Linked DNA regions of Homo sapiens: regions 2 and 3 are each linked to region 1. Evidence: promoter capture Hi-C in human tissues and cell types (Jung and others, 2019). All regions are on one chromosome and are shown on one strand. The core of a region is centred on a gene start or on the middle of the fragment in contact, and the rest is flanking DNA. Distances in the headings are between cores, read along the strand shown. Region 1 holds the start of PRPH (peripherin). Region 2 overlaps SPATS2 (spermatogenesis associated serine rich 2). Region 3 overlaps SPATS2 (spermatogenesis associated serine rich 2).

Region 1 (4,241 bases), core at 1,660-4,159:
GCTTGCAGTGAGCTGAGATCGTGCCACTGCACTCCAGCCTGGGCGACAGAGCGAGACTATGTCTCAAAAAAAAAAAAAGGAAGAAAAAAGAAAGAAAGAGAGAAAGAAAGAAAGAAAGAAAATGGGGTGAACAGAGGTTAAGTCACTCAGAAAACCCAAAGCACACAGCTAATTAAGGTGAGCAGCCATGAATGAACCTGCACCATCTGCCCAGAGTCCCGGTCCACCAGGGGAGGATGAGGCCAGGGAGGACTTGGCTTCTTCCGCCTTGGGTCCAAGCACTACTTTCAGCAACCAGGGGCACAGTCCAAAAGAAGCCCAGACTCTCACTGCTCTTGGGGCTGACATTATCACTCTGGAGGTTAATAATAATAGCAATAATAAAACCAGCTTCCATTTTCAGGCTTTAAGATGTGTGTCCTAAGCACTTCACATGTATTTATTTATTCCTTTAGTCCTCCCAACAACACTATGAGGTAGAAGCTACAGTTAGTTATCTCCCTTTTCTTGAGGGACATGAAGGGACGTAGTGACGAGCCTAAATTCTACAACAGAGTGGTGGATCAGATGGGAAGTGTGGCAGCTGGATGCCAGAGCCCGGCTCTTAACCCAGACTCTTTGCCTACCTTTGCTCCGCCTGGAGTTGCTGGCCTGCTCCTTCTGCTTTAGGGGAGGAGCCTCTTCTGCCTGGCAGTTCCCCACCCAGGCCTGATCCACAGCTCCAGAGCCCTGCTGTGGCAGCCCTCTGTCCCTTCTCCTCCGAGGCATGTAGGTGGCCAGCGGAGCCCTTAAGCAGGGTGAGGACGGGAACTCCATCTGGAACTCCCCAGGCCCAGCTGCAGCCCCAGCAGCCTCTACTCTCAGAGGCTTGGGTCCCCCACTAGTGCCCTGTAGACAGGGCCTGAGCTGGTCCTCCCCAGGCCTTGCCCGCCTCTCCTGATGCAGAGCTGGCTCCCTGCTCCTGGAGGGTGGGGCCAAATCCGGGATAGATGGGGCTCCAGGCCAACAGCAGCTGGGGCTCAGTGCCCAGGACTGCGGCAGGAAGCACCAAGGCTTCCCTAGCCCCTCCTCACACCCACCAAGCCTCCCGGCCCTATCCCGGGTGGGACCCTACCCCTCCCAATTCCCAGGAGTTAGGGGAGGCCAAGCTGTCATTTATTCGTCCTGTCCCATCTCTCCCTTCCTCCCGCTTCCCACTCCCCTGGCAACCAAACCAGACCCATCAAGGAGAAGGAACTGGCAGCTGTGCAGGGAGAGACTAATGGCCCGGAAGGAAGGAGGGGCCTGGAAAGGAGACGAAGGCGGTAGGGACGTGAGCAGGGCGTTGGCCCTGGCCCATCTCACAGGACGCACAAAGGGGGGAGGGGGCTGCTGCCCTGCAATACTGAGGAGCTGGCCAGCCAGGGAGCCGCCCTCCTTACCCCCAGCCAGATATCCAGGCAGGAACCTGAAACCTGCTTCCCCAGATGCACTCTCTTGTCCTCAGGTCCCATCTGAGGCAGACCTGTCTCACAGGACAGCGCTGGAGTCCCCAGCAGCAGCAGCAGCCCCAGCCCTATGGTTCCTGGCAAACCCAGCAGACCTCAGCAACCCGGCTCCTGCAGACCATCCGAGCTGCCTCTGTCCACTCCTGGGCAGGTTGTGCTTGCATTCTGGAAGCTGTTTGACATACAAAGGCCAGATATCAGCCTTCTCGCTAACTCTGGAGTAGGGGAGGGTGTGGTGGGATGTGTGATTGTGTGTGTATGTGTGTGTATGTAGTGTGTGTGCGCATAGATATACAAAGCTGTGTGTATGCATCTGTTTGCGTGCGCAGGTTTGTGGACCTGTTCTGGGGCCTTCTCTCTTTCAGACTGCTGGGGATGGGCACTTTCTCTTTCCCCATCTCTTCCCCATCCAGCCCCACCCATCCCTGGTACCTGCAACTCATCAATACTGGAAACCAGCTCCTGCCAGTCCATCCATCTCTCAGCCTTGGCAGCCGCTGTTGCCCCTCAGCCCCCTCCCCTTCCTACCTCAGGAATCACTCTGGTTCCTGTAAAGCCCATGACTGAGCAGCAATTGGTGTGGGGTTGGGGGGAGGGAGAATCCAGTAAACCAAGACAGAATACAAAAGGCCCACTTAGCCCAGCCCGTGGCATGGGGCAGACCCTCCCGAGTGGGATCCAGAGCTGGGTCCAGCCACCCTCAGCCCCCTATGATGTACCCACCTCATTGGGGCTTGTTGCGGGGTAGGTCTAGGTTTGGGGGCTGTGTCTTTAAGGCTGAAACATCAGCAGACAACCTCTGCTGGGCCGTCTTCAGGGGAGGGGGAGGGGGGCTGGTCAGCCCATTAGCAGCAGAGCTGGCGCCAGGCACCAGCCCTTCACAGGGCCCTGGGGATTAGGGAGAGTAGCTCTTCCCCAGCCCGATCTGCCTCTGCGCCCCTGTCTCCTATTCCTCTCTGGGTGTGGTGAAGGAGGGGTAGCTGACAGCAGGTGAAAATAGAGCCTGGCCTTCAGGGGGCAAGTCAAGGCACTAGCTATGGGGCCTAAGCCAGGTCAACTCTCCCTCCAGCTGGCCTCCTCCCTACTCCTGTGCCAGAAGCCTGCCCTTTAACTTCAGGTCCTTCTACCTCGCAATTTTCAGGGACTCTAGTTCAAGTCAGGCCTTCCTACCCTAGGTTCTAGCTTTGGGTGCTTGTTGGGAGGAAGTGACCCCCACCCCAGCGGCAACAGGGGGCAATCAAGTGGGTAGAGGCCTGCAACCAGGGAAGGGAGGGGAAGGCGCTCCTGCTGTTCCGCAGGGGTGGGGCATCCCCCTCCCCATACAACCCCCCTCCAGCGGGCCATCAGGCCAGTGGGAGGAGCTGCCCGTGCCCCCCCTGAGACCGCAGGGCTATAAAGCCGCCTCGCAGCGGTCTGCGGCTCCTTCCCAGCCCCCGGCCTAGCTCTGCGAACGGTGACTGCCCATCCTTGGCCGCAATGAGCCACCACCCGTCGGGCCTCCGGGCCGGCTTCAGCTCCACCTCATACCGCCGTACCTTCGGTCCACCGCCCTCACTATCCCCCGGGGCCTTCTCCTACTCGTCCAGCTCCCGCTTCTCCAGCAGCCGCCTGCTGGGCTCCGCGTCCCCGAGCTCCTCGGTGCGCCTGGGCAGCTTCCGTAGCCCCCGAGCGGGAGCGGGCGCCCTCCTGCGCCTGCCCTCGGAGCGCCTCGACTTCTCCATGGCCGAGGCCCTCAACCAGGAGTTCCTGGCCACGCGCAGCAACGAGAAGCAGGAGCTGCAGGAGCTCAACGACCGCTTCGCCAACTTCATCGAGAAGGTACGCTTTCTGGAGCAGCAGAACGCGGCCCTGCGCGGGGAGCTGAGCCAAGCCCGGGGCCAGGAGCCGGCGCGCGCCGACCAGCTGTGCCAGCAGGAGCTGCGCGAGCTGCGGCGAGAGCTGGAGCTGTTGGGCCGCGAGCGTGACCGGGTGCAGGTGGAGCGCGACGGGCTGGCGGAGGACCTGGCGGCGCTCAAGCAGAGGTCAGGGGGCAGGGCTGGGCCGCTGCCGTCGAGGCGAGGTCGAAGCGGCCGTCGAGGCGGCTGCTCTTGCCTCCCCTCGCTTCCCCTCTCCATCAGCAGCCCAAGGGTGTGGCTCCCCTTACCAACCCAGGTGTGTGCGGGCAGCATCCCTGCCCACGGGCTCCAAGTGCCCCCCGCTACCCCTTTGCTCTGAGTGTTTGGGGAGGTGGGAGAAGTGGGTATCTGTGCCTCCCCTGAGTAATGAGGAAACCCCCTTTTCAGCTCCCAGTCCGTTAGAGACAATGCGGGGCAATTCCATTAGACAGCCTCAGCCCTCCATTTAGAGTCCTGGGCAGCAGAACAGCCTCTAACCGGATCCTGGGGGGCGTGCGGTCTGGGGTGCGAGCTGGGCGGCGACCCCGCAGTTCAGCCTCTGCACGCTCTTCCCGTCAGGTTGGAGGAGGAGACGCGCAAGCGGGAGGACGCGGAGCACAACCTCGTGCTCTTCCGCAAGGTGAGTCCGAGCCCCTCTCCGAGTTCAGCCTCCCCACCGCTACCCCCGATCTCAGTATCCAGAGGTGGCATCGGTGGGCGCGGGGAGAAGGGGGTAACCCAGATGCCTCCTGAGGCAGACAGGGAAGGCCTGGTCCTTCCTTGGTCTGCGCAGCCCCTAACTTATCTTGAACCTCCACTGCCACCCCTCGAAGGACGTGGACGATGCCACTCTGTCCCGCCTGGAACTAGAGCGCAAGAT
Region 2 (4,241 bases), core at 744-3,243, 170 kb after region 1:
AGATACCTACACTCAAAACCCAGACAAGGCAAAAGGATACTTTTCTTGTATATTTTTTGAGATCGAAGAAACGACAATGTCCAGGAAACAGAACCAGAAGGGTAAGATTACATGTGGGCATAAATTGTTAAAAGCATAGTTATAATGATCCCCATTTATAGCTGTATATTTAAAAACTGTCCTTCTAATGTGTTTTGAATGGTTTTACAAGTATTTATGGATATTAGATTATCGCTTTGTGTATTACTAGTCTGGGAATTAATTCATATAACAATAGCTTTTCTACTCACACAAACTTAGCAAATTGTAATATGCTTAACAATCTTGAAGATGCATTTTTGAATACTGAACATATGTTAGGGAGATGTGTTAAGAGGGCTAGCTTGCTGCAGGATATTCTATGTTGTTTGAGTTGGCATTTTTCTAGAGAAAGGCAGTGGAGCAAGAGTAAATGTTTCTGGGTTTTGTTTCCTTCTTTAGCTTTCCTTCCGGGAATGTTCTTCTAGCTTCTTATCTAAAGTGAAATACAAGGTGCAAAGAGTCAGGAAATAGAAGGGTAGTTATAATGGAGGGAAGGACAACAAAGACTTTGTAAAACCTTTTTCTACTTTTCTAGAATAGCTGCAAAAATTTCAAGGGACAAAGTGAACAACAGCACTAGAACTATTGTACATAATTGGAATATATTGATTAAAAGAATGATCATAGATATCTTGGCGTTTTCCCCTCATTCAATTTAATTTCCAGTTCAAAGTTAATGTTCTTTAATTCAAAGCAAAGCTATTCATAGATCCAGGTCTCACATGTTAAATATGAAGAAAATTCTTTTAAACCTAATTTTGACTTGATAATTCAAAAACCTTATAAGAAAGTAAATAAACCAGATTTGTAGTTGTAGCTTCATTGTGTAGTAAATCTATAGGAAGAATCTGAGCTCTAAGGAATGCTTAGATTACTAAAGCTGAACTGTTCTGTGGAATGAAATTTACCAACGGAAAAGTTTTTTTTAATAACCCAAGTTTGTTTTTTCTTAGTTGTTATAATTCAGTTTGTTTTTTCCCAGTTATGCTTGAAACATTGAGCATCTGTTTTCACCCTGCAAATGAGAAATACTATAGTAAAAATAGGGTTCTGGAAAAGTTGAGCATTTAATTTTTCCAAAAAAAAAGTTAACTTCAGCAAATTACTTTGACCTTTTTAAAACTAGAGAGTCTTTATTTCATGTCTGTGTTTTGCCAGAGCTGTAGAAAAAAAGTATCATTGTGAAGCAGGATATTTCCCTGGCCCCTTTGCAGGAGTCTCTCCTTTACTCAGCCTGCCTCTCTCAACTCCTCACAGGAAGGAGAGCGCGAGTGAACAAGGAAGGAACTGGAGGGCATGAGTGCTGGAACCGGCTGGCTGCTTCAGTACCAGCAGGGGTGAACTCTGTGTGGGCCCCGTGGCAGCATCCAGGCTGTGGGGTGCCTGTGACCCCCGAAGCTCCAGAGGGCATGTTACAGTGCTCTTCTGGCTCTGCCATTTGTGGACGGCTTAAGTGTTAACAGCTCAGTGGGCCCTTTCCCCCCGTGTGTGGGGTGGCTGCCCTCTGCCAGCAAGGGCAAAGGGCCAGTGTGACAGCCTTTTGTATCTGCACTCGTGGCTCCTGAGCTCTTGTCTGGTGTCCAGGAAAAATGAGGTCACACGAATGAATTGAAGGATGGTAAATGCGGGAGATTTTATTGCTGATGAAAGTGGCTTTTAGCAGGAAGGGGAGCTGAAAAGGGGTTGGTGGGGTGCGGGTAGATAATCTTTCCCTGAAGTCCAGCTGTCTCCAGCTAGTTTTTTCTCCAAAGTTACACCATCAAGCTGTCCCTCTAAAGTCAACCCACTTCTCTCCGACATCCTGACGTCCAGCTAGTTCTCCTCTCTGCCAGCTGAGTCTGGGGTCTTTATAGGCACAGAATGGGGCAGGGTGGGGCCATGGGTGGTTTAGGAAAAGGCAACAAACAGGAAAACAGAGATATAAGTTCTCACATTGGGCCAAGGTTTCAGGCATTTTGGCTTGAGGGTGGCGTTTTAACCGGTGACCCACCCTTTTCTGCCTAGAATTTCTCTGCCTCCTGTCCCCATCAGTTGCTTTTTTCTAATTACTATAAAATGAATTTAAATATTAACTATAAAAGAATTTAAATTTTAGACTACAACATAGGCCGGGTCTGGTGGCTCACGCCTATAATCCCAGCACTTTGGGAGGCCGAGGTGGGTGGGTCACAAGGTCAGGAGATTGAGACCATGCTGGCTAACACAGTGAAACCCCGTCTCTACTAAAAATACAAAAAAAAAAAAAATTAGCCGGGCGTGGTGGCGGGTGCCTGTAGTCCCAGCTACTCAGGAGGCTGAGGCAGGAGAATGGTGTGAACCCAGGAGGCGGAGCTTGCAGTGAGCAGAGATCATGCCACTGCACTCCAGCCTGGGCAACAGAGAGAGACTCTGTCTCAAAAAAAAAAAAAAAAAAAATAGACTACAACATAGACACTAAGTGCTTACCAGTTTTGGTTGAACTTAGCCTAGATTTACACTTAGTTGGAAACAAAGTAAAGCTTATGTGTTGTTGGGACTTTCTCTGAAACAAATCTATGCATGTAATTCATTTGCATGTCTGATATTTGGTCCCATGACATATAAAATATTACAACATTTCATTTATTCATTTATACGTTTAAAGTGTCATTGCTTTGGGTTTTAGTAGTCTAATCTGTAAATACACTGACTTTATCAACTTGGTTATACTACATTAAAAAGAAGGGTCTATGGTAGTCATTGTTCTTAGTGGTATTTCATTTACAGGCTCTCATTTTGTAATGAGTTATGTTTTTATTCAGCAATAGACCATGTTTTCATATTTTCCTTTTGTCAGTAATACTTGTAAATTCCTTATTTAATGAAATACTTAGTGGAGTTAAACTTGAACAGCTTAAATTAAATTAAGTCAGTTTCAGTTAAAACTATTGATTACTCCAAGCCTATTAGCCAATATCTAGCAGAAGTCAGAGCTGTGCTTCTTAGAGTGTGGGCTGTAGACCCTATTCCTGTCTGTGAACTGGAGAAGTATATAGAAATGAAGAGTGTTTAGGAACTCTTTGATAGTGATTTGACAGTGTGGCAACATCTAAGCCCTTTTAAACACAGTTTTATTGAGGTATAATTTAAATACCTTAAAATTTGCCCAAGTGTATAATTTGATTATTTTTAGTAAATTTATGGAGTTGTGCACCATCACCAAAATCTTGTTTTAAAACACTTTCCGACTGGGTGTGGTAGCTAAAGCCTATAATCTCAGCACTTAGGGAGGCTGAGGCAGGAGAATGGCTTGAAGCCAGGAGTTCAAAATCAGCCTGGACAACATAGTAAGACTCTGTCTTAGCCAGGTGTGGTGGCTCACGCCTGTAATCCCAGCACTTTGGGAGGACAAGGTGGGCAGATCATCTGAGGTTGGGAGTTCGAGACTAGCCTAACCAACATGGAGAAACCCTGTCTCTGCTTAAAAAAAAAAAAAAAAAAATTAGCTGGGTGTGGTGGTGCATGCCTGTAATCCCAGCTACTCAGGAGGCTGAGGCAGGAGAATCGCTTGAACCCGGGAGGTGGAGGTTGCGATGAGCCGAGATCGTGCCATTGCACTCCAGCCTGGGCAACAAGAGCAAAACTCCATCTTAAAAAAAAAAAAAAAAAAAAGGACTCTGTTTCTACAAAAAATAAAAAAATTAGCCAATTATACTGACACATGCCTGTTACAGTCCCAGCTATTTGGGAGGCTGAGGTGGGAGGATTACTTGAGCCCAGGAATTTGAGGCTACAGTGAGCTATGATCACTACACTCTAGCCTGGGTGACAGAGCGGGACCATGTCTCTTAAAAAAACAGAAACAAAACCCTCTTTTCCTTATCCCCCAATATTCTCTTGTTTGTGATCAATTCCTGCTCCCTACCCCAGCCACAGGCAAACATTGATCTTCTGTCACTTTATTTTTGCATTTTCTAGAAATTTCATATACACATATTAGTACAATATAGATATTATGTCTGGCTTCTTTTCACTTAGTGTAATGTTTTTAAGGTTCCTCCATATTGTTGAATGTGTCAGTAGTTTGCTCCTTTTTACTACTAAGTAGTCTTGTTATAACACATTTATCCATTTAACAGTTGCTATTCATTTTGGATTGTAGTTTGTGCTGTTATGAATGATTGTCAATTATGTACATTTGC
Region 3 (4,241 bases), core at 698-3,197, 130 kb after region 1:
TTGCTGCTTTATGATCTTTTTATTCATCTCATATTTATTCTCTAGCACATTCCTGATGTTGATATAGCAGAAAGAAATATAATTTGTAGTTTCATGGAGCTAGGTTTGAATCACCACCTCACCACTTACCAGCTCTTTGTTCTTGGGAAACTCGCAAACCTCAAGTTCTTCAGTTAAATGAATGATAAGTACTTCACAGAATTACATGACATGTATGTAATGGATGTTACAGTGGCTGGCACATAGTAGGCAGTAAATGTTAGTTTCTTATCTGTTCCTCTCAAGCCCTCAAGCCTTCCTGCTTTTTTTTCCTTCTGTTTCCATAACTAAAAAGTTGCAGTCATTTGGTATGACCTCCTTAATCTTCCCTCTAGTTATTTTTGTCTTTTTGTTTGTTTCAGAAGTATGTTTCTTTTACCTAACAGAGTTTTTGTGAAGATTTTTGATAATGCATATAAAATTGCATTATTAGTATAGTTCCTGGCCTATAGTAAGCATTCAATAAAGATTAGGGTTGGCATGGTGGCTCACGCCTGTAATCCCAGCACTTTGGGAGGCCAAGATGGGCAGACCGCTTGAACTTGAGCTCCGGAGTTCGAGATCAGCCTGCGCAAGGCAACATTGTGAAACCCCATCTCTACAAAAGATACAAAAACTAGCTGCATGTGGTGGCGTGTGCTTGTATTCCCAGCTACTCAGGAGGCTTAGGTAGGAGAATCGTTTGAGCCCAGGAGATGGAGGTTACAGTGAGCCAAGACCGTGCCACAGCACTCCAGCCTGGGAAACAGAACCAGACCCTATTTAAAAAAAAAAAAAAATTTTTTTAATTGACTGTGACTATGTGAATGTAAGATTAATTTGGTCTTTGATTACCTTTGTATGTTGCTCCTCCCTTATTTTCTACTCCAATAAGTATTACCTTTCTCTGTTTTATGTTTTATGTCCTCATCCCTTTTCAAAGAAAAAAGTCTTCCCTATTTGGGGGAAAACCCCTTTTGCTTTGCCTTGCTAGCACTCTGGTTAATACTGTTTTTGTTTTTTTTTTTTGAGATGAAGTCTCTGTTGCCCAGGCTGGAGTGCAGTGGTGCGATCTCGGCTCACTGCAGTGTCTGCCTCATGGGTTCAAGCGATTCTCCTGCCTCAGCCTCCCGAGTAGCCAGGACTACAGGCACGCACCACCACACCAGATAATTTTTGTAGTTTTAGTAGAGACAGGGTTTCCCCATGTTGGCCAGGCTGGTCTCGAACTCCTGACCTCAAGTGATCCTCCTGCCTTGATCTCCCACAGTGCTAGGATTACGGGCGTGAGCCACCGCGCCTGGCCTAATACTCTATTTTTTAAAATCCCTTTATTGTCAAACAGTTGAATAGTTAAGTGGCTTGGTCCCCACTTTTCCACAACCTGCTCTCATATTGAAGCCTCCTTGCATTCTGATATACCATAATTCTTCCATGAAACTGAAAGAGCATCATCCTCCCACCCAAACTCTCACAAAGCTTAGAAAATTATAAGCATTCAATGAATATTAGTTGAATAATGAATGAAATGAGAAAGTTTAAAGTTCTATCACTGAGAGTCCTCTGATGCTTTCAATCAATGGATTTAAAGAAACCCTGTAAGTAACTGTCGTACCCAAATTCACCTAAATGGATGTTGTTGTGTAACATGAATTTTATTGTTTTTTTCTGAGAAACCTATGATTTATATCAGAGTCAGGGAAGGCATTTTAAATATTATGTTACGGAGAAAAGTTTAACTCTGAGGGCAAATTTATTAGTAAAAATCTCTTGTTTTTTCTATTAAGAGAACTCAGACCAGGCGCAGTGGCTCACTCCTGTAATCTCAGCACTTTGGGAGGCCAAGGCGGGCAAATCACTTGAGGTTAGGAGTTTGAGACCAGCCTGGCCAACATGGCGAAACTCCATTTCTACTAAAAATACAAAAATTAGCCAGGCATGGTGGTATGCGCCTGTAATCCCAGCTGCTCGGGAGGCTGAGGCAGGAGAATCACTTGAACCCGAGAGGTGGAGGTTGCAGTGAGCTGAGATCCTGCCACTGCACTCCAGCCTGGGCAACAGAACGGGACTCTGTCTCAAAACAAACAAACAAACAAACAAAAAAAACAAACTCAGACCATTATTTTTCTACTTCAGTGATACTCAGACCTTTGTTCCTCAGCCCCATGTAGTCCGTTCAGCAGCCATCTTCTTCTGAGACATCTGTGATATTAACCAGAACATACCTGCATAGGGAACCATGGTGCCCTTTTGATTAATGAGAATAGCTAATGTGGCCCCAGAGGCATATGCTTTTAAGCACAACAGTCTCAGCTTTGGTCAGTTTGATTTATCTTTTGTCATTATAATAGGTAGACTTGTTGACAGTTAGTATTTTTGTTTTATCTGTCTAGTAGATTGTATTAGTTTGCCAAAAGTTATTAGGGCAAAGTTTCTGTGATTATAGTTCTCTTATCTGTTACTATTATATCTTATATAGTGTTTACTGTTAATTGGGAAAGTTGATTAAAGCAGGAAATAAAAAATGATACATACGTACCATAGTATTTTTTATTTGTTTTGTTTGTTTGAGATGGAGTTTTGCTCTTTTGCCCAGCCTGGAGTGAAGTGGCGAGATCTTGGCTCACTGCAACCTCCGCCCCCCACCAGATTCAAGTGATTCTCCTGCCTCAGCCTCCCAAGTAGCTGGGATTACAGGCACCCACCACCACGCCCAGCTAATTTTTGTACTTTTAGTAGAGATGGGGTTTCGCCGTGTTGGCCAGGATGGTCTGGAACTCCTGACCTCGGATGATCCACTCCCGCTTGGCCTCCCAAAGTGCTGGGATAACAGGAGTGAGCCACCACACCTGGCCCATAGTATTTTATTTTAGCTTAAAACAAATGTACATTTATTCACCAATCTTTGATGTATTTAGTATGAGTTTGCTGATTAGAATTCTTCATATTTTTGGCATTAATTACACCCTGTGATACATTCTTGCAACTTCTATTTACGGTTTTTTTAAGCAGAGTGAGAACTCTTAGAGACTTGAAGCAATGAGTACAAACCCTTTTTTTAGATTTTTAATTTCCCTCCCAACTTGTATATGTGTCTCACCCACACTTAAATTGAGGACAGTTTTAAAAATAATTTGTATTGGTTCAGTCTTCTAGAGCCTTCTGTTTAGTTTTTAAAGAAATAATTTTTCTTATAGTTTATTGATGTATTTACTTTTGTTTTTCTTTTCTTTTTTGTAGACAGGGTCTCACTCTGTTGCAGAGGCTGAAGTGCAGTGGTGCTATCACAGCTCAGGTGATCCTCCTACCTTAGCCTCCCGAGTAGCTGGGACTACAGGCGTGTGCCATCGTGCCTGGCTAATTTTTACATTTTTTATAGAGATGGGGTATTGCTATGTTGCCCAGGCTCGTCTCGAACTCCTGGGATCAAGCGATCCATCTACCTTGGCCTCCCAAAGTGCTGGGATTACAGGCATGAGCCACCACGTCCGGCCATGTAAGTGTTAATATTTCTGTCTTTTTTGAGACGGAGTCTTCTCTGTTGCCCAGGCTGGAGTGCAGTGGCACGATCTCAGCTCACTGCATCCTCTGCCTCCCAGGTTCAAGCAATTCTCCTGCCTCAGCCTCCCAAGTAGCTGGGATTACAGGCGCATGCCACCATACCCAGCTAATTTTTTTGTATTTTTAGTAGAGACGGGGGTTTCACCACGTTGGCCAGGCTGGTCTCGAACTCCTGACCTCAAGCGATCTGCCTGCCTTGGCCTCCCAAAGTGCTGGGATTACAGGTGTCAGCCACCATGCCCAGCCAGTATTAATATTTCATGACAATTATGTAATTGTAATTATGAGCACAACTGGCATTAAGTAGGTTTGAGAACAACAAATAGATTAGACTCTTAGTAAGTATTGCATAGTGGGAAGAGAAAAGCCTGCGTGTACGCCAGTGTTGCCTTTTAGCCTACCAGTGTTCATTTAGGGGTGTTAGTCAATTCATGCTAAGGGTAATGGATAGCATCAGTTAAACTGTGAAGGTAAGAGGTAAAAGGACATCTTTAGTTTTTTTCTTTGTTTTTGGTAAACTTTTTTTTTTTTGATGTGTAATACACACAAAATGCAAAATCCTTAAGGGTACAACGTAATGAATTTTTACATTGAACACAGCCATATAACCACTATTCAGATCAGGATCCTAGAAGCCCTCCTGTGCTCTGACCCAGATTCTC

Evidence for each region. Contacts are between HindIII fragments. The study calls those that stand out against the background at their distance.
Region 2: a fragment that was not itself captured here is called in contact with the fragment with the promoter of PRPH in region 1 in 2 of the 25 tissues and cell types used here (liver and spleen).
Region 3: a fragment that was not itself captured here is called in contact with the fragment with the promoter of PRPH in region 1 in 1 of the 25 tissues and cell types used here (lymphoblastoid cells).

Annotation. Positions count from the first base shown.
Region 1 is chr12:49,292,238-49,296,478 of GRCh38, forward strand. PRPH (peripherin) reads left to right here and starts at 2,910. Exons shown (of 9, transcript NM_006262.4): 1 at 2,910-3,508; 2 at 3,941-4,001; 3 at 4,195-4,241. The coding sequence starts at 2,964. It overlaps TROAP-AS1 (TROAP and PRPH antisense RNA 1), which reads right to left. Exons shown (of 8, transcript NR_120449.1): 6 at 3,023-4,241; 7 at 2,211-2,298; 8 at 394-1,659. RefSeq lists enhancers at 402-1,165, 1,166-1,928, 2,008-2,925, 2,926-3,842. The HindIII fragment of the contact is 28,443 bases long and covers 1-4,241 here.
Region 2 is chr12:49,460,937-49,465,177 of GRCh38, forward strand. It overlaps SPATS2 (spermatogenesis associated serine rich 2), which reads left to right. Exons shown (of 14, transcript NM_023071.4): 3 at 1-101. The coding sequence starts at 77. Among named protein-coding and RNA genes, the nearest start is that of KCNH3, 76 kb to the right of the region's middle. The HindIII fragment of the contact is 4,568 bases long and covers 1-4,241 here.
Region 3 is chr12:49,422,108-49,426,348 of GRCh38, forward strand. The region is part of intron 2 of SPATS2 (spermatogenesis associated serine rich 2); the gene reads left to right. Among named protein-coding and RNA genes, the nearest start is that of SPATS2, 57 kb to the left of the region's middle. The HindIII fragment of the contact is 9,368 bases long and covers 1-4,241 here.